5 separate regions of the Homo sapiens genome follow, and all the other regions are linked to region 3. The links are contacts of gene promoters, found by promoter capture Hi-C in human tissues and cell types (Jung and others, 2019). All regions are on one chromosome and are shown on one strand. The core of a region is centred on a gene start or on the middle of the fragment in contact, and the rest is flanking DNA. Distances in the headings are between cores, read along the strand shown. Region 1 overlaps PITPNM2 (phosphatidylinositol transfer protein membrane associated 2). Region 2 overlaps MPHOSPH9 (M-phase phosphoprotein 9). Region 3 holds the start of RILPL1 (Rab interacting lysosomal protein like 1). Region 4 overlaps MPHOSPH9 (M-phase phosphoprotein 9). Region 5 overlaps MTRFR (mitochondrial translation release factor in rescue).

Region 1 (5,111 bases), core at 146-2,645, 410 kb after region 3:
CATCTCAAAAAAAAAAAAACGCAAAACAAAATTCACAAGTACTAGCCTGCCATTCAGATGGTATGCAGGAGTGTGCATGTTCATGTGTGTGTGTTGTTTTCCCCGTGTTCCTCTCCCCTCTGTTTCCTCTGTAGGCAAGAACTCTATGCATTTTTCTGTGTCTCTGTGTTCCCCCAGTACAAGTACCCAGCACAGGACTCATTATGCTGGGTTGTGGGCCAGCCTCAGAAACATAAATATTAGGAGATCTACTAAAAGAAAAAAGAGAAAAATATACAAATAAAACAACTACTGTGCTTTCAGTTGATGCCAGAAAAGCATTTGATAAAGTTCACTATCCATTTAATTTTTTTTTTTTCTTGAGACGGAGTCTCTCTGTTGCCCAGGCTGGAGTGCAGTGGCGCAATCTCGGCTCACTGCAAGCTCCGCCTCCCGGGTTCACGCCATTCTTCTGCCTCAGCCTCCTGAGTAGCTGAGACTACAGGCACCCGCCACCATGCCCAGCTAATTTTTTTTGTATTTTTAGTAGAGATGGGGTTTCACCGTGTTAGCCAGGATGGTCTCGATCTCCTGACCTCGTGATCCGCCCGCCTCGGCCTCCCAAAGTGCTGGGATTACAGGCGTGAGCCACCACGCCCGGCCTATCCATTTAATTTTTTTAGAGACAGGACTCCCATGTTGCCCAGGCTGGCCTTGAACTCCTGGGCTTAAGGGATTCCCCTGCCTCAGCCTGCCGAGTAGTTGGGACTACAAGTGTGCGCCACCATGCCTAGCCTCATTACTCCTTTTTTTGAGATTGAGTTTCGCTTTTGTTGCCCAGGCTGGAGTGCAATGGCAGTGATCTTGGTTCACTGCAATCTCTGCCTCCCGGGTTCAAGCAATTCTTCTGCCTCAGCCTCCTGAGTAGCTGTAATTACAGGTGCCCACCACCACACCTGGCTAATTTTTGTATTTTTAGTAAAGACGGGATTTCGCCATGTTGGCCAGACTAATCTTGAACTCCTGACCTCAGGTGATACGCCCTCTTGGCCTCCCAAGTGCTGAGATTACAGGCGTGAGCCCACTGGCCCCAGCCTCATTAATCTTAAAAACGTAGAGACTGAGGGATAGGCAAATATTTCAACATGATAAAGAATATCTCCCATCGGTAGCTACTTTATCTTTTTTTTTTTTTTTTGATATCGAGTCTCACTGTATTGCCCAGGCTGGAGTGCAGTGGCGCGATCTTTGCTCACTGCAACCTCTGTCTCTGGGTTCAAATGATTCTCCTGCCTCAGTCTCCCGAGTAGCTGGGATTACAGACGTGTGCCACTATGGCCAGCTAATTTTTTGTATTTTTAGTAGAGGCGGGGTTTCAACATGTTAGCCAAGATGGTCTCGATCTTCTGACCTTGTGATTTGCCCCCCTCAGCCTCCCAAAGTGCTGAGATTACAGGCATGAGCCACTGCGCCTGCCCCCCCACCTTTTTTTTTTTTTTTTTTTAACTTGAGACGGGGTCTTGCTCTGTCACCCAGGCTGGAGTGCAGTGGCGTGATTTAGCTCACTGCAACCTCCACCTCCTGTGCTCAAGTGATTCTCCCACCTCAGCCTCCTAAGTAGCTGGGACTACAGGTGTGAGCCCGCTTTTTTTTTTTTTTTTTTTTTTTTTTTTTTTTTTTTTTTTGTAGAGATGGGGTTTCGCCATGTTTACTAGGCTGGTCTTGAATGCCTGAGCTTAAGTGATCCCCCTCGGCCTCCCAAAGTGGTAGGATTATAGGCATGAGCAACCGCACTCAGATACTTTATCCTTAATAGTCAAATGCTCTAGTAGCATTTTCCAAAGTATGTTTGAGGAACACAGAATGCTCCTGGGTATTGCATCAAAAAAGCATTCCAGGGCCAAATAACATCTAGGAAGCACTGTTGCTCTAAGACACATTCCTTTTAATGTCTGTTGCAAGACAAGCATGCCTTCTCTCTCTTTAGTACTGTTCTTTATTCTAGATTCAAGCCAATGCAACAGGCTAGGAAAAAGAGGCAGGCTGGGCGCGGTGGCTCATGCCTGTAATCCCAGCACTTTGGGAGGCCAAGGCGGGCGGATCACGAGGTCAGGAGATTGATACCATCCTGGCTAACGCGGTGAAACCCCGTCTCTACTAAAAATACAAAAAATTAGCCAGGCGTGGTGGCGGGCGCCTGTAGTCCCAGCTACTTGGGAGGCTGAGGCAGGAGAATGGCGTGAACCCGGGAGGCAGAGGTTGCCGTGAGCCGAGATCACGCCACTGCACTCCAGCCTGGGCGACAGAGCGAGACTCCGTCTCAAAAAAAAAAAAAAAAAGAAAGAAAAAGAGGCAGGGCATAACTCTCAGATAGGAGGTTGCAAAATGAATGTTTTGAGTGGATACAGCCGTTGTCTTAGGTTTTCAAAGTAGACAAACTCAAAATTAATTAGAATAAGACAGTATGGCAGCCTGTTGCAAAATAAGTAGGCAAACACCATTGTTTTTCTATGCGTCAGTGGAAACCATTGTTGAATTTGATGGGTAGGAGCACCTCTAACACCTGTTTGCTTGGGCATCAACACGCCAGTGACCTTATTTTCTGGTTAGAAACAAGAGTAACACCCGGACAGTTCAGGCAGCTGCCAGCACCTCCTGGGTCCCCTGCGACCTGGACTCCCAGGAAATGGAGGGCAGCGGTGTAAGTGGCGTGATGCAGGGTGTTCAGCATCTCTCAGTGGGGTTATTCTGAGGACTCTTCCAGAATGTTTTGAACACATTTGTGCACCATTAAGTCGTTGTCACAGAGCCTGGAAGTCCATTATTTCAAGCTCAACTCATCCTGGATGATGGATGTGACTTGAGGAGGGATGAACCATTCGTGCATTCTCCAAGGGCAGGGCTCTCAGAAATTCCCTGTAGCTTTGTGGTCCCTTGCCCTGGCATCCCCTAGACCACCATGCTGAGGGCAGTGTTTGGACGAGACCCCAGTGAACAGAGCCTGGTTGTTGGAAGTAAATCTTTTGCTCCTGCTGGAAACCAGAGAACAGACACTGCTTCATCACTGCTGTCATTCATGCAAGCTTCATCACATTTTCCCAGTCATTATCCTGATCTTTCTCAAAGGCAATTCTTGCCTCTCTTTCAATCAACAGAGAACCCTAGAGATAATTCAGTCTTTGAGGGATTGCTGAGTCATTCAGCTGACTGGGGCTACCATGATGAAGCTGAAGTTCCAATGTCATGAATCAGGCTGTTCTCGGAGGCCACGGAAGGGGTGGATGGATGTGTGTCTGCCAGCTGTCCCACAGGCTGAACCCATCATGCTGGCCATACTTCCTAAGTCATCCTCCCTCCTCCCTAGTTCTTTTTCTTTACTCACTCAGTGTGGTTTTGCTACTTTTAATTTTCTGCCTTATTTTAACCATAGTGGTTTGCATGACCACCAGAGGGGTCAGTGTGCAGTTCTCCTAGGACTAAAGCCCTCCAGCTTTGTGACAGCTTTTCGCCTGAAGCTTGGTGGTCTGATCTGCAAGTTGGCCCTCTTCTAAATGGTGGGAGTTGTAGTCAGCTTGCTTGCCAGACTGGATTGTGGAGAATAGTAGGGCAAGAGTGAGAGGTTAATAGGGCAAGAATTCCCAAGCTTACCCAAGGATATGCATCAATCCCTGCAGAACCCTTAGCAGTTATATTCAACTCACTGAAGGGTCTGCTTGGTTTTTAGATCTTCTTTCTGATTCTTTAGGGATATGAGGGTCACAGGATTAAAAGGTAGAGCCTAGGCTGGGCATGGTGGCTCAAGCCTGTAATCCCAGCACTTTGGGAGGCCGAGGCAGGCGGATCACAAGGTCAGAAGATTGAGACCATCCTGGCTAACACAGTGAAACCCTGTCTCTACTAAAAATACAAAAAATTAGCTGGGCGTGGTGGCGGGTGCCTGTAGTCCCAGCTACTCCGGAGGCTGAGACAGGAGAATGGCGTGAACCTGAGAGGCGGAGCTTGCAGTGAGCCGAGATCACGCCACTGCGCTCCAGCCTGGGTGACAGTGCGAGACTCCATCTCAAAAAAAAAAAAAAAAAAAAAAACCCTAATTTTTTTTTTTTTTTTTGAGACAGAGTCTCGCTCTGTCGCCCAGGCTGGAGTACAGTGGAGTAATCTCGGCTCACTGCAACCTCGGCCTCTGGGGTTCAAGCGATTCTCCTGCCTCAGCCTCCTGAGAGCTGGGATTACAGGTGCCTGCCACCACGCCCAGCTAATTTTTGTATTTTTAATAGAGACGGGGTTTCACCTTGTTGGTCAGGCTGGTCTCAAACTCCTGACCTCGTGATCCGCCCCCCTCGGCCTCCCAAAGTGCTGGGATTACAGGCGTGAGCCACAGCGCCTGGCCTGTACCATGCATTTTCTTTGCGTTCTGCTATTCCAAAAGAAATATTAAATATTGGCATTTTAAAACATAAAATAATTAGAATTGAAATTTTAAAAACTCTTGTTAAATCTGTAGCATCAACTTAAATGAACCATCAGTGGTGTGCATCATCCTTTGATATGACTGAGTCTGCTTTTTGTATCCAGATATCAATTATTTATTTGTTTTTGCTTCTACCTAACTTCTTCCTTCTCTAACAATTCAAGACTCACAATTTTCTAGGATTCAAAGAACATTGTTTTTTGAGTGCTTTAGAATCATTTACTCATTCATTCTTTCACTTACTAAAAAACATTTAACATTTGGGAGGTTGAGGTGGGCAGATTGCTTGAGCCCAGGAGTTTGAGACCAACCTGGGCAACATGGCAAGACCTCATCTCTACAAAAAAAATACAAAAATTAGCTGGGCATGGTGACACATGCCTGTAGTCCCAGCTACTTGGGAGGCTGAGGCAGGAGGATCAAGGGAGCCCAAGAGATCAAGGCTGCAGTGAGCTGTGATGTCACCGCTGCACTCCATCTGGACTACAGAGCGAGACTCTGTCTCAAAATAAAAAAAATTTTTTTAACGAAACATTGAAAAGGCTATGCATGATAGTGCACCAGACATTAGCAAGATTCTAAAGATAAATTAGATACATTCCTTATGGAACTTACAAACTCATAGATTACAGTTCAGTAATAAAATATAAAGATCATATATATT
Region 2 (5,312 bases), core at 740-3,239, 310 kb after region 3:
CCTTTTCAGGAGGAATTTAAGGCAGCTTACATGGGTATATAAAACAATGGGGGTGGGGAGTTGTAAAAAACAAAGGAATATGTGAAATAAAACGAGAAAAGGAAATTTTAAAAGGCACAGGAAATGGTCCTACAGTAATCTGTATGCACTTGCAGAAAGTTGGCCACGCATTTTGGTTCTTGTATTACTTGGTGGTCCCTTTAAAGTACACTTCTAGAAGATATTCCTGTTAGAACAGTGTTTGATTTGGCTGGAGGAAGCTAACTGTGCCTTGCTAGTGAAAATTAGGCAATTAAACTTGTCTTCCTTTTCATTGTGACTGGCAGTTAAATTGGCCACATTTAAACTTGATTATTACAGCTATGTAAAATCCTTTACTGATAACATATATTCTTTCCTTTGAATTTTTTTTTTTGACGGAGTCTTGCTCTGTCACTAGGCTGGGGTGCAGTGGTGCCATCTCAGCTCATTGCGATCTCCGTGTCCTGGGTTCAAGGGATTCCCCTGCCTCAGCCTCCTGATTGGCTGGGACTACAGGCACGCACTACCACACCCGGCTAATTTTTTGTATTTTAGTAGAGATGGTGTTTCACCATGTTGGCCAGGACAGTCTTGATCTCCTGACCTGGTGATCCGCCCGCCTTGGCCTCCCAAAGTGCTGGGATTACAGGCGTGAGCCACTGCGCCTGGCCTCCTTTGAATTTTTAGTAATATTTTCACTGGTCCTAACTATTATTTTATTGTTATTTTTATTTATTTTTTTAAACAAATTATTTGTGAAAGAAAGCAGGATATCAAGCAGTAAATAAATTAAAATGATCTTTTGGTGACTAGATTTTAAGTACATTTTAATGTCCTGAAATATATTGTGTGTTTATAAAACAAATCCGAAATAACTTACCTGAAGTTTGGAAAAGCAGTACTCCTGGAAAAACTCAGTGCTGTTTTACACACTGAGTAGGCTAAATAAGTCCTGAATATTTGCTGCTGATTTGCTTGGCACAACTTTTATGCAGAGATAGTGCAGAGATAAGCATCAGCTTATCGTACCAAATTAAGGGTGTCCAGTGAACAAGATTTGACTGTCATTTGGGGCAGTGGGGAAAGAATCCCCACTGCACAATGAAGGGCTGTTCTGAAAGTTGGGGGAAATAATCCTCTGGAATAGCTGAGATCAGAGAAGCTGGAAATTAATCTTATTGTTTAGCACAGACTTTTTCTATTTTCTGCCGATCCTTTGGAGTGTTCTCTCACTTCTGGAGAAGGTCTTCTTGTTGTGTTCTTAAAAAGAGTACAGTGCGGTCTTTTTACTGGCCGTTTCCTTTTGTGGAGCAACTTGTGATCAGATTTTGAACAAATGAGGTGCCATTAGAAGGATTAAATGTCAGTGGTTTTGTACTGCTCTGCTAAATCTTGAACTGCTGAATTATTCAACACTTTGATAGAATGAAGAAAACCATTTGAATTATTTATGTTTCAACAGAAGTAGTCCCCACCTTAGTACAAATGGGGTATCCTCTTTCTCAGGGAAGACCAGACCATCTGTAATTCAAGGTACAGTTGAAGTCCTAACTTCTTTAATGCAAGAGCTACAAAACAGTGGAAAGACTGATTCGGAACTTTGGAAAAACTGTGAGGTATCTAATTTTGTTTTATTTTTGGAATTTTAAAATAATTATGTTAAAACATACCTCTACTAAACTCTAAATTATTAGAAATTTATGTCCTGAAGAGCATGACACTTTTAAGTTAATGCTAAAGTGGTCAAGTATATTAATTTGGGAATGATATTGAATGAATGGGAAAAAGGTGATCAAAAGTATTTTTTAACAATATATTACTGATTAGACATACTAATTTGTATATTAAATATGAACTAAAACATTGTCTTGGTTCAGAGACCTGAGAATCCCAAAATTATTAAAATTGTTACTAATTGTAATGTTGTCAGTAACTTATATGGAATTGTCATCATTTTGAAAAACCTAAATCCACTTTGAAATATTTTCAATGTTCTAATTATAAATTGAAGCTTCTATTTAGTACCTTACCATATTCAGCTGTGATACATTGCATTATATTGTTTTCAGATCAGTGGTTCTTTCTTTGGTTCATAGGTTAAATTGTGATATAAAAATGTAACAGTTAAAAGAATACTTACATGGCCGAGCACAGTGGCTCACGCCTGTAATCCCAGCACTTTAGGCGGCCAAGGTGGGAGGTTTGGTTGAGGCCAGGAGTTTGAGACTAGCCTGGGCAAGATAGCGAGACCCTGTCTCTACAAATATAAATACATAAATAAATTAGCTGGTCATGGTGGCACGGTGTCTGTAGTCCTAGCTACTTGGGAGGCTGATGTGGGAGGATCACTTCAACCCAGGAAGTCAGGGTTGCAGTGAGCTATGATCACAGCACTACACTCCAGCCTGGGTGACAGACTGAGACCCTGTCTCTCTCTATATATAAAAAAAGAGAACCTGTAATCCCAGCACTTGAGGCAGAGGTGGATAGCTTGTGCCCAGAGTTTGTGACCTGCTTGGGCAACATAGCAAGACCCCCTCAGTAAAAAAAAAAAAAAGTATATATAAATTTTATTTCATAGGATAATGCTCAAGATAGACTTTCCTAAGGCTGGATTTGATAGTTTTTTATAGAAATGTTTAAACCATTATTAATTCTTAGAAAGCACTAGATCTTGTTTTAAACGTTAATTGTACTTTTAGAAGCATAATTTGTGTTATTTTTCAGAATGTAGAGTAAGCGAAATGAAAGATTACCTGGTTTAAGAATTCGATAGCAGCAACTGCTAAGTGTAATTATTTATATCCATTATCCATAATTATTGAAATTATAAAAAAGTATTATTATATGCTTAAAAAATTGAGTTTTCAGTTTTTATACTTTATGCTTGTTTGCATATAATAATCAGTATGCACTAACGTGAAAGACCTTTAAAAATGCCCATGCAAATGCAATTAAAAATGGAATGTTTTATTAAGTATATTAAATGCTTCCCTTAATGTATCTACTCATAAGCTTTTTGTTTATTTGTTTGTTTGTTTTTGAGACAGAGTCTTGCTCTGTTGCCCAGGCTGGAGTGCTATGGTGCGATCTCGGCTCACTGCCACCACTGCCTCCCAGGTTCAAGTGATTCTCCTGCCTCAGTCTCCCGAGTAGCTGAGATCACAGGCGAGCGCCACCATGCCCAGCTAATTCTTGTATTTTTAGTAGAGAAGGGGTTTAGCCATGTTGGCCAGGCTGGTCTCGAACTCCTGACCTCAGGTAATCTGCCTGATTTGGCTTCCCAAAGTGCTGGGATTACAGGCATGAGCCACCGTGGCTAGCCCTTATTAGCTTTTGATAACTGAATTAACATGCTTTAGGACAAAGGAGGCATTGCCACAATGTATTTTAACTTCTGGAAAATTTGTGTTTAACTAGAAATTGTTACTTTTGATAATTAGAAATCAACCTTTTTTTTTTGACATTAGCATCTTAAGTCAGAATCAGAATATATTCCCTGCCCCACCTCTCCTCTCCCCTCCCTCCCACCCCCTCCCTCCCTCCCTTCCTTTCTTCCTTCCTTCCTTTTCTTTGTTTCTTTTTCTCCTCTTTCATTCTCTCTCTTTTCTTTCTTTCTTTTTTTTTTTTTTTTTGAAATAGGGTCTCATTCTGTCATCCAGGCTGGAGTACAGTGGCACAATCTCTGTTCACTGTACCTTCAACCTCTTGGGCTCAAGCCATCCTCCCACCTCAGCTTCCCAAGTAGCTGGGACTACAGGTGCACACCACCATGCCCAGCTAATTTTTGCATTTTTTGTTGAGACAAGGTTTTGCTATGTTGCCCAGGTTAGTCTTGAACTCATGAACTCAAATGATCCACCCACCTTGGCCTCCCAAACTGCTAGAATTACAGGCATGAGCCGCTGTGCCCAGCCTCTGAGCTCTGTTTTTATAACAGCTTTCAAAATAACATCAATTTATATTATCCTGAAATGAAATTCATAGGTAATATAACCTACCTTTACCCGCTTTAAAAAATCAATATACTATCCTAAATGTGACATAAAGGAGAAATAAAAAATTTACAGTAAAATAACATGTATTTGGATATATCCATGTCAGGCACATGTTCATTAGAAGACATAATGAAGTAGTCATGTTTACCTGTATGTACTCACTGTGAATTCAGCAGCTGAACACAGATCAATATAGCTATGGTGTGTTGATGATCCAGGTATTGTGTACAGCACCTCCACTGGTGACATGCTTTTCTGAAAGGGTGACCAACTTCTCATGAGATTTTGAAACTTAAGTTTGTTTTGATGTTATGAATACTGTGCGAAATATTTATTGTTTTATAACATAAAATGGACACAGGACAATTCTTCATCATGGGGGACTGCCCTATGATCCGCATGCCTGGACCCTGCCCACTAAATGCCAGTGATGTCCCCCCAGCTTTGTCATGACCGTGACCTCACAGATTTCCAACATGGAGTTCCTTCCCCATTGAGATCACTGCATCATATTTAAATTTAAAACTTAGGCCTGTAATCCCAGCACTTTGGGAGACCGAGGCGGGTGGATCACTTGAGGTCAGGAGTTCGAGAACAGCCTGGCCAACATGGTGAAACCATGTCTCTACTAAAAAATATGAAAATTCGGCTGGGTGCAGTGGCTCACGCCTGTAATCCCAGCACTTTGGGAGGCCGAGGCAGGCGGATCATGAGGTCAGGAGATTGAGACCATCCTGGCTAACATGGTGAAACCCCGTCTCCACTAAAAATACAAAAAAATTAGCCGGGTGTGGTGGCGGGTGCCTGTAGTCCCAGCTACTTGGGGGCTGAGGCAGGAGAATGGCGTGAACCCAGGAGGCAGAGCTTGCAGTGAGCCGAGATCATGCCACTGCACTCCAGTCTGGGCGACAGAGCAAGACTCTGTCTCCAAAAAAAAAAAAAAAAAAAAATGTGTATATATATATATATAAATTAGCAATTAGCCGAACATGGTGACACATGTCTGTAATCTCAGCTACTTGGGAGGCTGAGGCATGAGAATTGCTTGAACACGGGAGGCGGAGGTTGCAGTGAGCCCAGATCATGCCACTGCACTCCAGCCTGGGTGAGAGAACGAGAGACTCCGTCTCAAAAAAAAAAATAAATAAATAAATAAAACTTAATCCTTTTAGCCATCTATGAGATATTATTATTCCCATTTTATAAAGTAGGAAACTGAGGTACAAATTAATTTGTCCAGGACCCCACGAGTTTTTAGTGGAGAGCTTGGAGTTAGAGTGGGGCAGGGGTAGG
Region 3 (5,730 bases), core at 1,637-4,136:
GAGGCAGGGAAATTGCTTGAACCTGGGAGGTCGAAGCTGCAGCGAGCTGAGATCGAGCCACTGCACTCTAGCCTGGCGACAGAGGGAGACTCTGTCTCCAAAAAAAAAAAAAAAAATTAGTAAACACATTACACGTTAACATAAATTTTTTTAACTTTTTATTTTTTTAGAAACAGTCTACCTACATTGCTCAGGCTAGACTAGAACTCTTGAACTCAAGGGATCCTCCCACTGGAGTAGCTGGAACTACAGGCTCACGCCACCGTGCTAGATAACGTATGAGTTTTTTTGTTGTTTTTGAGACAGGGTCTCCCTATGTCACCCAGGTTGGAGTGCAGTGGTGTAATCACAGCTCACTGCAACCTCTGCTCCCTGGGACTCAAGTCATCCTTCCACCTCAGTCTCCCGAGTAGCTGGGACTACAGGCACTTGCCACCAGAGTCGGGTAATTTTTATTTAATTAATTAATTAATTTATTTATTTATTTATTTTGAGACAGAGTCTCGCTTTGTCACCCAGGCTGGAGTGCAGTGGCACGATCTCGATCTCAGCTCACTGCAACCTCTGCCTCCCGGGTTCAAGTGATCCTCCTGCCTCAGCCTCCTGAGTAGCTGGGATTACAGGCGCCTGCCACCACGCCTGGCTAATTTTTTTTTTTTTTTGTATTTTTAGTAGAGATGAGGTTTCACCATGTTGGCCAGGCTGATCTTGAACTCCTGACCTCAACTGATCTGCCCCCCTTGGCCTCCCAAAGTGCTGGGATTACAGGCATAAGTCACTGCAACCAGACTTTTTTTTAAATAGAGACGGGGTTTTGCCATGCTGCCCAGGCTGGTCTCGAAATCTTGGGCTCAAGTGATCCTCCAGCCCTGGCCTCCCAAAGTGCTAGGATTACAAGCATGAGCCACTGTGGCCAGGAGTATTTATTTTTATTTTTTATTTTTCTGAGACAGAGTTTCGCTCTGTCGCCCAGTTTGGAGCATAGTGGTGTGATCTCAACTCACTGCAACCTCTGCCTCCCAGGCTCAAGGGATCTTCCCACCTCAGCCTCCCAAATACCTGGGACTACAGGCTCTCACCACCACGTCTGGCTAATTTTTTTATTTTACTTTTTTTTTTTTCTTTTTTTTTTTTGAGACGGAGTTTCGCTCTTGTTGCCCAAGCTGGAGTGCAGTGGCACGATCTTGGCTCACTGCAACCTCTGCCTCCCAGGCTCAAATGATTCTCGCGCCTCAGCCTCTTGAGTAGCTGGGATTACAGGCACATGCCACCATGTCTGGCTAATTTTTGTATTTTTAGTAGAGGCGTGGTTTCACCATGTTGGCCAGGCTGGTCTCGAACTCCTGAGCTCTAGAAATTTTCCCACCTCGGCCTCCCAAAGTGCTGGGATTACAGGCGTGAGCCACCCCGCCTGGCCTTAATTTTTTTTTTTTTACTATTTATTTATTTATTTATTGTATTATATTATTATTTTGAGATGGAGTCTTGCTCTGTCACCCAGCCTGCAGTGCAGTGGCGCGATTTCGGCTTGCTGCAACCTCCGCCTCCCGGGTTTAAGCAACTCTCTGCCTCAGCCTCCTGAGTAGCTGGGATTACAGGCATGCGCCACCATGCCCGGCTAATTTTTGTATTTTTAGTAGAGACGGGGTTTCACCACCTTGGCTAGGCTGGTCTTGAACTCCTGACCTCGTCCACCTCAGTCTCCCAAAGTGCTGGGATTACAGGCGTGAGCCACCGCGCCCGGCCAACTTTTAGATTTTTAATCAATACGTGCCACGTTGGGGTGCGCTTTATGGCTACAAGGGCATTAAGATTTCTTCCCTCAAGGAGCCAAGATCTGACGGTGGAAACCTACCTGCAACCACACGGTGAAAACTCAGGATGCTAAGAGCAATCCTGATGGGGCAAGCAGGGGACTGTGAGTTTGCAAGGGGGTCCTTAACTCCTGCGTGGGGGGCGGGGAGGGTGGATGGGGTTCTGGGTTCAGGAAACGTTCTCCCGGGAGTGGGAGGGGGTCTGATGGACAAGTGGATTTGGCCAGCCCAAATGGACAGGGGGCCTTGGGACAAGAGAACTCGTGGTGCTGGAATGCCAAGCGGGCTTCGCTCTACTGTGAAGTGGCGTTCATGTCACAAGGAGCCAGTGATGGATGTGGCTCGGGGAGGCGCGCCCTGGGGCTCCGGGGATCCAGCATTCCTCGACACGTCGGCCCCTCTCCGGGCGCCTCTGCAAGTCCGCCTGGTGGCCGGGTCTGCGCGGAGTGTCTGCGGGCCGGGGGGGGTCCCCGTTCTCTTCCTGGGATGAGCCCCAGCCCGGGGACCTCCTCGTGACCCCTCCATCCCTCTCCAAGGCCGGGGCCGCTACCCGGAGCAGCGAATCGTCCCGCGAGACCAGCGCCCCCGGCCCCCTCTCCCGGGGCGGCCTGGACCCCTCCCGGCGGCCGGGTGGTGGGAGGAGTCAGCGCCGGGCGGGGGAGGGGCGGCCGGGGCACGGGTGAGGGGCGCCGCGGGTCCGGCGGCTGGAGAGGGGGGCCCGGAGTGCAGGCCGCGGAGTCGGCGCTTGGGGGGGTACCCCGGGGCGCCCCCGGGCGGCGGAAAGCGGGCGCGCCCCTGGCCAGGCCGGGATTGGGGCGGGGCGCGCGGCCTCCCTGTGGGGAAGCGATCACCCGGCCTCGCAGCCGCCGCCGCCAAAGTTTCCCGGAGGAGCCGCGGGCCGCCCTTCCTCTCCGGCCCCGCGCTCTGCCGCCCCTCAGGCCCGCACCGCCCCGAGGCGCCCGGCCCGGCTCCATTGAGCGCAACTCGGATCCCAACTTGGGAGGCGCCGCGGGCCTGCGCACGCGCGCGCCCTCCCCGCTGCCGCCGCCGCCGCCGCCGCCGCCGCCGCCCACTCGGGAGCAGCTCCGGGCCGAGCCGGGCGCCCAGACCCCGGGCCCGCACACCCCGCGCCGCCGCCCGTGCCCGCGCCCGCGCCCGCCGCCCGCTGCCCGCTGCGCCCTCGCCCCAGCGCCCGCTGAGCGCGCCCGCCCGCGGCCCAGGCTGGGCCCGGCCGGCCCGGCCCTCGACAGCGGCAAGTTTGGGAGTTGCACGAGTTTGCGGGGCGGGGGACAGGCCAGGAGGGTGGCCATGGAGGAGGAGCGGGGGTCGGCGCTGGCGGCCGAGTCGGCGCTGGAGAAGAACGTGGCCGAGCTGACCGTCATGGACGTGTACGACATCGCGTCGCTTGTGGGCCACGAGTTCGAGCGGGTCATTGACCAGCACGGCTGCGAGGCCATCGCGCGCCTCATGCCCAAGGTCGTGCGCGTCCTGGAGATCCTGGAGGTGCTGGTCAGCCGCCACCACGTCGCGCCCGAGCTGGACGAGCTGCGCCTGGAGCTGGACCGCCTGCGCCTGGAGAGGATGGACCGCATCGAGAAGGAGCGCAAGCACCAGAAGGTGGGCGGCGGCCTCGGTCTGTCCGTCCGGGCAGTGGGACCGCGGGGACCCAAGGGCTCTTCCGCATTGGGCAGCTGTGGGTGCGCACGTGTGTGTGTTCAGGGACCGGACCAGAGGAGACCCGACGTGGGGAGGGAGGGAGGCCCTGGCCTTCTTTTGCCCGACCAGGGGTGGCTGGCAGATACCACCCGAGAGATTAAGAGCTGTTCTCTGGAGTTCCAATCCCACCTTTACCGTTTAATAGCTGTGTGACTTTAGGTAAGTTACTTAACCTCTCTGTGCTTTATTTCCTCACCTGTCAAATGGTAATCATAATAGGACCCACCTTAGAAGAATTAAATGGGACCATATAAGCTAAGTGCTTAGACATATTATTCTCTTCCAGACATGAAATAAGCCTCTTGGCCTCCCGAGTTACCAAGAAGATGTGACATCAGGCCCAGGACCCTTTCTTCATCCCCCCCCCCCCCAGTCTCCCCAGAGCAAAGGGAATGTGACCTCCAGCCACTGAGCTTCGTGACCCCTAGTCTTCGGGTTCATATTTGCAACTTTCTTCCCGGGACTCCCCTAGCTTATGAACCTGTGGTAGCCCGTGTTCTCTCCTCTGATTTTATCCTTAATCCTCACAGGACTCTATAGAGACTATCTTCATTTTACAGATAAAGAAACCGAGGGTCACAGTGGGAGGAGCAATTTGTCCCAAATTAGTGGTGAGAGAGTCCCAGCCCCCGTGTCTCCTCCCCACCCTGTTTGAATTGGGGGAAAGGGATGATTTGGGGTGGCTTTAAGGCTAAGCCTCTGCCCTGTGATCAGGAGTCTCTCTGAATCAGGGCCTCCCCACTGGGCCTGGAGTTCAGACGAGGTTTCTGGAGAAAAGGAAGTGAAAGACATGTGGTTTCCTGCCCTAACCTCAGCCAGGGATGCTCTTGGCAGCCCCTTCAGACTGAGAATGGGAGGAAACACCTTTCCTTGAGGGATCAGGGTGCCTGAGCAGTCTCCAGCTTGCTGTTCAGCCTCAGGAAATACAGATGGCCTCTCTGAACCTCAGGGGCAGGCCATCCCTTATTGTGTACTTTGATGGATCTCTGTGTTTTGGAGTAAAATAGCCAAAGCTGGGTCTGAACCCTTTACCTGAGGGCAGACCCACAGGTAGGTAACAGCACCATTGCCATGTTTGACTGTGCTCGTCCTCATGGGTCCCTATGCCCTAGGGGCAGGAAGGAAACTCAGGCTCCCAAGAGTTGAGCAGCATTTCCGAGGTCACTCTGGGAGCCTGAAAATGCTTTGACCTGTAATTAATTTCAAGACTCCTAGAAGCTAGGACTTTGGAGCTAGACAGCCTGGTTTCAAACCCTACCACTTGCAGGCTGTGTGATCTTGGGCAAATCACCCAGCATCTCTGTGCTTCAGTTTCCTCAGTTCTAAAATGGGATAGTAATAGTACCCCCATTAGAATGTGATGAGGTTTAAAGAGTTAATATAAATACATATAAAGTGTTCAGGACAGAGCCTGCCCATAGCAAGGGCTTTGCAAGTCTTAAAATTCTTTTTAGGCCTGGAGAGACATTCATTGAGGTGCTCACAGGCTCATATTAGGAAACCGTCCCCACCCCAAGCACCTCTACTCCTACCCTAGAGGCCTCCATCTCTCATAGAGGGTCAAGGAGGCAAGGGACCTTGGAAATTCTCTCGTGTGGCGCCTCTTATTAACAGGGACCAAGGGGCTTTGACCAGATCACACAGAAGTCCTGGCACCTATACTGTCCCCCAACTGGGGCTCTTTAGTTCTGTTGCGGGGGAGCTGGGAGAAATCCTTGGAAGCCATCGGAGGCCACCAGGTCTGAAGTCACATGGAATTGTCAGCAGCTGCACTTGTTGCCTCTGGAAAGTGTTCAGCTGGGAAGTGAACACCGTGCGCTCAGGGCCAGGGCTTGTTGACTTACATTGAGGATGACCTCTCTAAATCAAGGATGCAATTCTTTTCCCACCCCAGCCCCAGACCCGTTTACTTCACATTCTTGGGATGGAGAGAGACTTGTATGATTTTTTTTTTTTTTTCCTGCAGAGTCTCAAAGGCTCTTCAAGGTGATATTTCCACAAAAATGTTTTTGGCATGTCCTGGTTTAGTCTGTCCACCTCCATTCCTCTTCCCTTTCCCCTCTTCTTCCCTACCCCTTCTTCCTTGTCTCTCTCGCTTTCAGCAATTATGGCTCCAGTAAAGGACATACACTTTCTTCCCCCTACTCCTCCTCTCAGTAGACCCACTCACTCACTTCCACTCATCACTCAGATGCAGGCC
Region 4 (4,897 bases), core at 965-3,464, 360 kb after region 3:
ATAACTTTCTCAACAAAAAATGGTAAAAGAATATAACAAGCAGCGCACAGATCCCTGATGGCTAATAAAAATGAGAACATGTTAATTGTCATGAAAATGCACATTAAAACAATAAGATACAATTCACACCATCGGACAGGTTATATTTAAAATTGAAACACTTTAACGTTTGGCAAAGATATGGAGAGACAGGAACTCTCAAAGTAATGATTGACAGTTGATACAGCTTGTCTGGAGAGTGATTTGGCAACAGTCAGAGAGGTTGAAGATGTGCACCAAATCCCACAGTTGCATGTTAAGATGTTTGCCTTAGAGGAATTTTCACACGTGTTAATTTTAGCATTGTCGAAAGGCTGCATATTAAAAACCATATTTCCACTGCCGGGAGAAAGGACAAATATATTCATACTATGGGTAAATGATAAAAATGAATAGAGCTTATATGTACTAACACAGATAAATTTCAAACATAATATTGAACAGAGAAAGCATTAAAGGCCAGGTGTGGTGGCTCACGTCTATAATTTCAGCATTTTGGGAGGCCAAGGTGGGGAAATTGCTTGAGCCCAGGAGTTTGAGACCAGCCTGGGCAACATGGCAAAACCCTGTCTCTACAAAAAATATAAAAAGTTAGCGGCTAGACACAGTGGCTCACGCCTATAATCCCAGCACTTTGGTAGGCTGAGGCAGGTGGATCATGAGGTCAAGAGTTTGAGACCAGCCTTACCAACATGGTGAAACCCCGTCTCTACTAAAAATACAAAAAAATTAGCCAGATGTGGTGGCACGCAGCTGTCATCCCAGCTACTCACAGGGCTGAGGCAGGAGAATGGTTTGAACCTGAGAGGCGGAGGTTGCAGTGAGCCGACATCGAGCCACTGTACTCCAGCCTGGGTGACAGAGCGAGACTCTGTCTTAAAAAAAAAAAAGCTGGGTGTGGTGGTTGGTGGTACGCGCCTGTAGTCCCAGCTGCTCGGGAGGCTGAGGTGGGAGAATCACTTGAGCCTGAGGGGTCGAGGCTGTACTGAGCCATGATCATGCCACTGCACTTTAGCCTGGGGGACAGGGTAAAACCCTGTCTCAAAAAAAAAAAAAGACATTTAAAAATGTGTATTAATACATTATGCCTTCTGTGTAATTAAATATATAAAAATTGGTCTTATAATTAAAAACAAATTTTGCAAGATCGGGCTGGGCACGTGGCTCACACCTGTAATCCCAGCACTTTGGGAGGCCAAGGTGGGCAGATCACTTAAGGTTAGGAGTTTGGCCAACATGGTGAAACCCCGTCACTTCTAAAAATACAAAAATTAGCTGGGCACAGTGGTGGGCCCCTGTAATCCCAGCAACTGTGGAGGCTGAGGCAGGAGAATTGCTTGAACCTGGTAGGCAGAGGTTGCAGTGAGCTGAGATCACGCCACTGCACTCCAGCCTGGGTGACAGAGGAAAACTCCATCTCAAGAAAAAAAAAAATTGGCAAGATCTTAGCATTTATTAAAACTGAGAATGGGTGAGTAGATGCTTGTTATAGTATTCTTTGTAATTTTCCAAGAATGTTTGAAGATTTTTTTTTTTTTTTAAGACGGAGTCTCGCTCTGTTGCCCAGGCTGAAGTGCAGTGGTGCAATCTCGGCTCACTGCAAACTCCGCCTCCTGGGCTTATGCCATTCTCCTGCCTAAGCCTCCTGAGTAGCTGGGACTACAGGTGCCCGTCACCACACCTGGCTAATTTTTATTTTGCATTTTTAGTAGAGACGGGGTTTCACCATGTTAGCCAGGGTGGTCTCGAGCTCCTGACCTCGTTATCTGCCCGCCTTGGCCTCTCAAAGTGCTAGGATTATAGGCATGAGCCACTGAGCCTGGCCCTGAAATAGTTCTTAATTTAAAAACTGGGCCGGGCGCAGTGGCTCACGCCTGTAATCCCAGCACTTTGGGAGGCCAAGGTGGGTGGATCACGAGGTCAGCAGATCAAGACCATCCTGGCTAATAACATGGTGAAACCCCATCCCTACTAAAAACACAAAAAATTAGCCGGGCGTGGTGGTGGGCGCCTGTAGTCCCAGCTACTCGGGAGTCTGAAGCAGTAGAATGGTGTGAACCCAAGAGGCAGAGCTTGCCGTGAGCCGAGATCGCGCCACTGCACTCCAGCCTGGGCGACAGAGTGAGACTCTGTCTCAAAAAAAAAAAAACTGAGGGAAAGAGTGACTGGAGTTGAAGTGAATGTAGATAGAAGAGGCAGCCTCTAAAATGTTTGGTTGTGAAAGGGGACAGAGAGAAAACAAGAGTTGTTTCATGGTTTCTGGTGTTTCTTTGAATTTGACTCAAAAGTTTCACCTGTCAACGAAGGTGGGATGGGAGGTTTGAGGAGGGTGGAAAGGGTGTGAGATAGTCATGTTTGGAGAACTGAAGCTTGCTGGTTACAGAAAGTCATGTTGCCGGCCGGGTGCGTTGGCGCACACCTGTAATCCCAGCACTTTGGGAGGCTGAGGTGGGCGGATCATGAGGTCAGGAGATCGAGACCATCCTGGCTAACACGGTGAAACCCCGTCTCTACTAAAAATACAAAAAAATTAGCCGGGCGTGGTGGCAGGCGCCTGTAGTCCCAGCTACTTGGGAGGCTGAGGCAGGAGAATCGCTTGAACCTGGGAGGCGGAGCTTGCAGTGAGCCGAGATCACGCCACCGTACTCCAGCCTGGGTGACAGAGCGAGACTCCGTCTCAAAAAAAAAAAAAAAAAAGAAAGTCATGTTGCCAGGCGGTCAGGCGGTTTGGGGTGTCCGCTTGAGGTGGTGATGAGTCTGCCCAGCTGGTGGCTTTTTTCCAGCAAAGCTCAGTGGTAGGAGTTGAGACCTGAAGCGCGGCCTTTGTAGTCAGCCAGTCCTCAGATTTTGCTGCCAGTCAGGTGTGGTGAAAGGTGAGAGAGAAAGTATCGTGAGTGTGGACTTCAGGGTAGATCAAGAGGACCTAGTCAGACTAGGAGGGGTTGATAAATGGAAAATGGAGAGGCCAAGGATCGTAGGTCACGTTGCTGAAGCTTGAGGGCGGGAGGCAGAATAGGGGCACAGTCTTTGGAGTATTGGTTTCTTAAGGGGAGTGTGTTCTCTGGTTTTGACAAAAGCCAGCAAGTACCCTCTGAGGTGGCTGGCTGAGGAGTAGAGGGTCACCTCACTGGAGAGAGTGGTCAGGAAGTTGCCTAGTGTGAGAACAGGCATAGGTGTGGAGAAAACAAGGCAGGCTCTAAAGTCTGGGGAATGACTGGGGGTTAACATGATGGTGGGAACCTCAGATGAGCTGGGGGAGCAATGTCTAGAATTGCGCTGTTCAGTACAGTCCTGCCAACAGCCACTATTACTATTTAAATCAATCATGTCAACCTAAAATCAGTGACAGAGACTGACTCTCCAAAGAAATTTATTTGGAAATGTTGGGGGTTTGCAAGCTGGAGTACGCATGCTGTGGTGAACCATAAGCATGTCCAAAGGGGTTGGGACACAGGAAACTTTAAAAGACAAAGGGCAGTCCACAGTCCACTAAGCTATTTTAAAACAAAGACCACTGGTTACAGGAGCATGTTGCAGGCATTAGCATTAGCTCAGTGGTGGAGACATCCCTTGTTAGGGATGTTTCCTTGTACAAGCAGCTTATTATCTGGAATACTGTCGTTCTGAGGAATTCAGAATAGTTCCCATAATCAGCATCTGTGTGAGAGGCTGCTCCTTTGTGCCTCCCAGCTCCATTTTTTGGGAGTTTGACATTAGTGACTCCATTTTGATACTGAAAACTTTCATTATTAAAATTAACGTTTTATAATTGGTTCTTCAGTCTCAGCAGCCACATTTCAGGTGTTCAGTAGTGACACCTGACTTGTGACTGCTGCATTGGACAGTGCAGATAGCATTTCTGGTTTTGCAGAAGATTCTGTTGGACAGTGCTGGTCTGAAGGGAACAAGAAGGGCAGCCCTGCTTCCTTCAGCACTTTACCCTCAGCTACAGTAGGGGCACAGAGTGTAAAGGGTGTGAAATGCCTGAGAGACAGTGAGGGGAATGTTCAGAGCCGCAAGTACCTGAATCTTGACTGAGATTCAGAAGTAACAGAAACCTAGAACAACAGTTAAGTTGAATCATAAAACTGTAAAATAAATTGTATCCAAAATATAGATTGTTACATGTGATTTTTAAATTAGTGTACAAATGTGTAAATACTGTTTGAGAGCAGATTGTTTTATATGCACATGCAGTCTGAAATGAAGTGCAGACCTTTATAATGCCTGACCGTTTTCATTCTAATAGCACACTAGCAACTTCAGACGTCAGCAGGCGGAAATGGCTGATTCCAGGTGCAGAGTATTCCATCTTTACTGGCCAGCCTCTGGACACCCAGGACAGTAACGTGGATAACCAGCTGGAGGAAACCTGTAGCCTAGGGTGAGATAACTTTGCTAAAGATTCTATTTAGGGATGTTATGTTTTCTTAGAGATTTCAATTGCTTTTAAAAGTTTGGGAAGCCCTCTCTTTGGTTCTTTAATGTCTTAATTTTGAGAACCTGACTTTTATTTTACTTTGAAAGGCTACTACTTTTAGAATATTTTACTTCCATGAGCTCTGCCAAGCTTCCCCACCTGTGCTCAGTGGCACAGTATGGGTTTGTGATTAGGATAGGATGTCGATCCTCAGGCCAGGTGTGGTGGCTCACGCCTGTAATCCCAACACTTTGGGAGGCCAACGTGGAGGATCGCTTGAGCCTAGGAGTTCGAGACCAGCTTGGGCAGCATGACAAAATCCCACCTCTACAAAAAATAAATATATTAGCCGGGCATGGTGACATGCGCCTGTAGTTTTAGCTACTTGGGAGGCTGAGGTGGGAGGATTACTTGAGCCTGGGGAGCTCAAGGCTACAG
Region 5 (5,238 bases), core at 1,907-4,406, 270 kb after region 3:
GAGGGAAGGGCTTTAGAGAGGGATGGGATTGTTAGCGTCCTTCAGGGTTGCTTGGTTATAGGTTTCCCTGGTTCTCTTTATGTCTGAGGGTTTTGTGGACAGGCTGTGGAAGGATGGATCCTCTTGCTGTTTCAGAATGGGCTTTGCTGGCTGGTCCTGTGCACTTGCTGACCTCAGGTCTCTGCCTCTGTTTCAGGCATCATTCACGCTAGAGGACTGGTTCGGGAGTGCTTGGCAGAAACGGAACGGAATGCCAGATCCTAGCTGCCTTGTTGGTTTTGAAGGATTTCCATCTTTTTACAAGATGAGAAGTTACAGTTCATCTCCCCTGTTCAGATGAAACCCTTGTTTTCAAAATGGTTACAGTTTCGTTTTTCCTCCCATGGTTCACTTGGCTCTGAACCTACAGTCTCAAAGATTGAGAAAAGATTTTGCAGTTAATTAGGATTTGCATTTTAAGTAGTTAGGAACTGCCCAGGTTTTTTTTGTTTTTTAAGCATTGATTTAAAAGATGCACGGAAAGTTATCTTACAGCAAACTGTAGTTTGCCTCCAAGACACCATTGTCTCCCTTTAATCTTCTCTTTTGTATACATTTGTTACCCATGGTGTTCTTTGTTCCTTTTCATAAGCTAATACCACTGTAGGGATTTTGTTTTGAACGCATATTGACAGCACGCTTTACTTAGTAGCCGGTTCCCATTTGCCATACAATGTAGGTTCTGCTTAATGTAACTTCTTTTTTGCTTAAGCATTTGCATGACTATTAGTGCTTCAAAGTCAATTTTTAAAAATGCACAAGTTATAAATACAGAAGAAAGAGCAACCCACCAAACCTAACAAGGACCCCCGAACACTTTCATACTAAGACTGTAAGTAGATCTCAGTTCTGCGTTTATTGTAAGTTGATAAAAACATCTGGAAGAAAATGACTAAAACTGTTTGCATCTTTGTATGTATTTATTACTTGATGTAATAAAGCTTATTTTCATTAACAATTTGTATTAAAATGTGGGTTCCTTGAATTCTTACGTGCTGTTTTATTTTTTTGAGACAGGGTCTTGTTTTGCCACCCAGGCTGGAGTGCAGTAATATAATCTTGGCTCACCGCAGCCTCAACCTCCTGGGCTCAAGCAATCCTCCCATCTCAGCCTCCCTAGTGGCTGGAACTACAGGTGTGTGCCACTATGCCTGAATAATTTTTAAAAGACTTTTTGTATTGAATGAATGGGTGTGTGATGGAAAAAAAATTTTTTTTGCAGAGATGAGGTCTCACTATGTTGCCTAGGCTGGATCCTGGGCTCAAGTGATCCTTCCACCTTAGCCTCTCAAAGTACTGGGATTATAGGTGTGAGCTACCACGCCTGGTGTAAAGAAGTGCTATTTTAAATAATCTCTCATGAAAGTGTTTGAAATGCTTGTTCCCCGGTGCCGTGAAGAAATAGCACTTGAACATAAATTTAATTTACTCAGCAAGGCCATTTTTACTTCCCGCAGAAAGGGTACATTCGCCAGCAGTTTTGCCACGAGAGTACACCGAACAAAGAGACAGGGTCATTTGTAACCTGATGCGTCCACCCTACTGCTGTGTCCGGTTTCCATTGGCTGGAACGGGACCTCATATTCTGTATTTGTCCTGATTGGGAAGCAACTTAAAACTTTTTAAAAGAGGCGAAGGCAGAAGAGAACAAAGGAAGGAGAAAGTAACTTGTGGAATGGTGAGAAAGGTAAACACTTTTAAATAAGGAAGAGGAACAGGCTATGACCTAATGCTTGCTCCGACCAGTGTAAGCATGCCAGGACAAATATTTAGGCTAAATTGTGGGAGCTAAGAACATAAAGTACATTGATTTCTTTACCACGGCTAGCAGATAATTAGGAATGTTAGCACAGGTCTTTGAATAAATTTTGCTTCGAAGAGAAGTTACCGTTTATTCCAAATTAAATGGGGAGGAAAGTCTTTGGAGAGGAACCTCTACTTTACCTTTTACAAGAGGTAGGAGATGCCTGTTCAAACTGTATTTTCCCATCTGACACGGAAACATTTTGGTGATATCATTAGCACAGTTGGCTGGGGAAAGAATGTGTTTGCTAAGTCAGAGGTAGGGATAAAGTGAAGTTGCATTATGGGTGTATTTTAAGTGCAGCAAACTTAAGTGTATGCTAGGAAAAAAAAATAGCAGCAGCAGTTTTTAAAAAAAAAATTTTTTTTTTTTTAGATGGAATCTCCCTCTGTTGCCTAGGCTAGAGTGCAGTGGCTTGATGTTGGTTCACTGCAATCTCTGCCTCCCAGGTTCAAGCGATTTTCCCAGCTTAGCCTCCCGAGTAGCTGGATTACAGGAGCGTGCCACCACACCCAGCTAATTTTTGTATTTTTAGTAGAGATGGGATTTTACCATGTTGGTCAGGCTGGTCTCCAACTTCTGACCTCAGGTGACCCAGCCGCCTTGGCCTCCCAAAGTGCTGGGTTTACAGGCGTGAGCCACCACGCCCGGCCAGAAGCAGTATTATTGAGTTGGCCTGTTACCCCATGGTTAGGCCATTCTCAGTTCGTAGGTGCTTATCCTGTGGGCTTTTGGTGGGTGCTACAGGAATCTTTTTCATAAAGTACGGCTCCTAACTTCAAGCTACTTCATATGGTGCTCACTGGAAGAATTATCTGCTCTGGTGCCAGGGAAAAAATGGGCTGCACTGGATGTGTTGAGAGTCCACGTGGTGGTCTCTGACAGTGCCTCCCAAAGGGATTTTAATTCTTACTCTATACCTTAGGCCCTAAATACCTGCAATGAGAATTTGCTTTGCTGAGCAGTAGACAAAGACAAATGAGAGAGACTTGTCTTTCTTTGATGCAGGCATGAGGCGAATTCTCAGCCATGACAAGGCTGAAGGCCAGCAGGAACAGGCTCTAGCGAAATGGGTGCTGTGTCCCCTTCCTGCATGTGGCAGAAAGTTGCAAAGGTATGAGAGAGGAGACAAACGGAAACCATTCTCCCTTATCTCCAGCTCCAAATTTCCCCTCCCACTCTTACTGGTTTCTTAGGTGTTGTTCTAGAGCCTTTATTTTCTACAGGGCGTTTGGGCTGGGGAAGGGTCCTGTACACTCGCAACAGGAGGTGTAGAATGAGCCCTGCATTGAATGTGTAAGCATCCAAAGCTGTCACTGAGGTGAGAAGAGCCTTCATTGGCAGCCTCAAAGAGAAAGGTGTGCTTGGATGTATGCACTGGACATGCCACCTAGGCCTACTGGACATGCCGCCTAGGCCTGCTGGACAGACTGCACAACTGAGGCCCTGCAACTGGCAATCTCCCAATGGCTTTCTCACCTCTCAGCATTTTTCCCTATTTGTTTTCTACGTGGACTCCAGAAGAGTTCTAACAAGCCAAGCTATAAAGCATGGCTTTAAAAGAAAAACAACTGTAAGGTAAAATCCAGCTTAAGTGACGTAAATTTACAAGCAAATCAGATTCTGGAACCTCACCTTTACAAATCTTGCAAATCAACGTGCAGGGAATGTGTTTGTTTCTACATCAGAGGCACAACTGGGCATCATACAGCCTAGAAGCTAATAGAGCACATGGACAAGGAACAGAGCCTTTAGCTCTTCCAACCCTCTTATTTTCTCTCTTTTTTTTTTTTTTTTTAGACAGTCTTGCTCTGTTGCTCACGCTGGAGTGCAATGGCGCAATCTTGGCTCACTGCAACCTCGCCTCCCAGATTCAAGCAATTCTCTTGCCTCAGCCTCCCAAGTAGCTGGGATTACAAGCGTGTGCTGCCACGCCTGGCTAATTTTTGTATTTTTAGTAGAGATGGGGTTTCACCATGTTGGTCAGGCTGGTCTCAAACTCCTGACTTCCATGATCCGCCTGCCCCAGCCTCCCAAAGTGCTGGGATTACAGGCGTGAGCCACCATGCCCGGCCCTTGTTTTCTCTTACTGTCTTGAGCTGACATGGGGATAACTGACTTTTAAGTGTCACTGGGCAGCAGCTTCCCAGCAGATGGCAAGTTGCCAAGAAATGCTATTAATGTTTGACTCCATTCTCCAGTTCTCCATAAAAATTGACTTTACTAATTACAAAAAAAATTTTATTATTACAAAACATACAATCTCACAAAGGTACAATTTGAAATACGGGGACACCCTTCTAACTACCACCCAGGTGAAGAAACAGAACTTTGTCAGGCACCCCAGAACCCCTCCAAGTGCCTCATCACAATGACAACTCCTTCCCTCTAGAAGTAGCCATTATTCTTGTATAGTACTGACTGTGTTTCTTTATGGTTTTATCTTATTTTTTAGAGACAGGGTCTTGTTCTGTCACACAAGAACAAGTGGACAGGTGGAGTGCAGTGGTGTTCATAGCTCACTGCAATCTTGAGCTCCTGGGCTCAGGTGATCTTCCTGTCTTAGCCTCCCAAGGTGCTGGGATTATAGGCGTGTGTCATTGCACTTGAACTAGTTTTATTTTTTTTTTGAGATGGGGTCTCGCTCTGTCACCCAGGTGTTGCCCAGGCTTGAGTGCAGTGGCGCGATCTCAGCTCACTGCAACCTCCGCCTCCCAGGTTCACGCAATTCTCCTGCCTCGGCCTCCCGAGTAGCTGGGATTACAGGTGCCCGCCACCATGCCTGGCTAATTTTTTGTATTTTTAGTAGAGACGGGGTTTCACCATGTTGGCCAGGCTGGTCTCAAACTCCTGACCTCAAGTGATCCGCCCGCCTCGGCCTCCCAAAGTGCTGGGATTACAGATGTGAGGCACCGTCCACCGTGCCCAGCCGAGTTTTATTCTTGAATCGTGCATGTCTCTGTTCACTACAGTTTAGTGCACCATTTAAATAAATTTGTTGTCTTTTAAGTTCATCAAAAATATTTCTTTTGAAGCACTATAATAATGCTGGTGATGGAACTCGCCACCATTATTCCCTGGGAGCTTCTGGCAGATTCTGTCAGTTGGAATCTCTAATTCTTTTCTCAGTGGACCTTTTTACTTGACTCCCACAGTTCTTTAAGTAGCTTCTTTTTTTCCAGGGTTTCCTTTGCTCTTTTTTTCCTTTCTTGTTTTTTCTTCGCCGCTTCTCGTTTTTCTTTGTGAACAGGACTGTTTTCACCATTGTAGAAAACATCTACTTTCTCTTGTAGGATTTTCCGAGCTAGCTTTCTGTTCTGATCAACTGATCTTGTCTGATGGCACTGTAAGAGATAATATTTTATAATGTGAAAACCACAGGATGTTAAAAATGG

The links. Contacts are between HindIII fragments. The study calls those that stand out against the background at their distance.
Region 1: a fragment that was not itself captured here is called in contact with the fragment with the promoter of RILPL1 in region 3 in 1 of the 25 tissues and cell types used here (dorsolateral prefrontal cortex).
Region 2: a fragment that was not itself captured here is called in contact with the fragment with the promoter of RILPL1 in region 3 in 3 of the 25 tissues and cell types used here (dorsolateral prefrontal cortex, hippocampus and spleen).
Region 4: a contact is called between a fragment that was not itself captured here and the fragment with the promoter of RILPL1 in region 3, in 1 of the 25 tissues and cell types used here (mesenchymal stem cells).
Region 5: a fragment that was not itself captured here is called in contact with the fragment with the promoter of RILPL1 in region 3 in 3 of the 25 tissues and cell types used here (IMR-90 fibroblasts, lymphoblastoid cells and spleen).

What each region holds. Positions count from the first base shown.
Region 1 is chr12:123,124,818-123,129,928 of GRCh38, reverse strand. The region is part of intron 1 of PITPNM2 (phosphatidylinositol transfer protein membrane associated 2); the gene reads left to right. Among named protein-coding and RNA genes, the nearest start is that of PITPNM2, 24 kb to the left of the region's middle. RefSeq lists an enhancer at 1,670-2,281. The HindIII fragment of the contact is 4,327 bases long and covers 1-3,558 here.
Region 2 is chr12:123,223,788-123,229,099 of GRCh38, reverse strand. MPHOSPH9 (M-phase phosphoprotein 9) reads left to right here. Exons shown (of 24, transcript NM_022782.4): 3 at 1,484-1,637. Among named protein-coding and RNA genes, the nearest start is that of MPHOSPH9, 6.7 kb to the left of the region's middle. The HindIII fragment of the contact is 6,998 bases long and covers 1-5,312 here.
Region 3 is chr12:123,530,875-123,536,604 of GRCh38, reverse strand. It overlaps RILPL1 (Rab interacting lysosomal protein like 1), which reads left to right and starts at 2,886. Exons shown (of 7, transcript NM_178314.5): 1 at 2,886-3,431. The coding sequence starts at 3,123. MIR3908 (microRNA 3908) reads right to left here and starts at 196; the gene lies at 71-196. RefSeq lists silencers at 1,958-2,143, 2,163-2,852 and an enhancer at 3,068-3,885. The HindIII fragment of the contact is 25,082 bases long and covers 1-5,730 here.
Region 4 is chr12:123,166,181-123,171,077 of GRCh38, reverse strand. It overlaps MPHOSPH9 (M-phase phosphoprotein 9), which reads left to right. Exons shown (of 24, transcript NM_022782.4): 17 at 4,289-4,423. Among named protein-coding and RNA genes, the nearest start is that of PITPNM2, 18 kb to the right of the region's middle. The HindIII fragment of the contact is 3,215 bases long and covers 607-3,821 here.
Region 5 is chr12:123,256,762-123,261,999 of GRCh38, reverse strand. It overlaps MTRFR (mitochondrial translation release factor in rescue), which reads right to left. Exons shown (of 3, transcript NM_152269.5): 3 at 4,040-5,187. The coding sequence ends at 4,969. CDK2AP1 (cyclin dependent kinase 2 associated protein 1) reads left to right here. Exons shown (of 4, transcript NM_004642.4): 4 at 197-1,024. The coding sequence ends at 264. Among named protein-coding and RNA genes, the nearest start is that of CDK2AP1, 12 kb to the left of the region's middle. The HindIII fragment of the contact is 6,691 bases long and covers 1-5,238 here.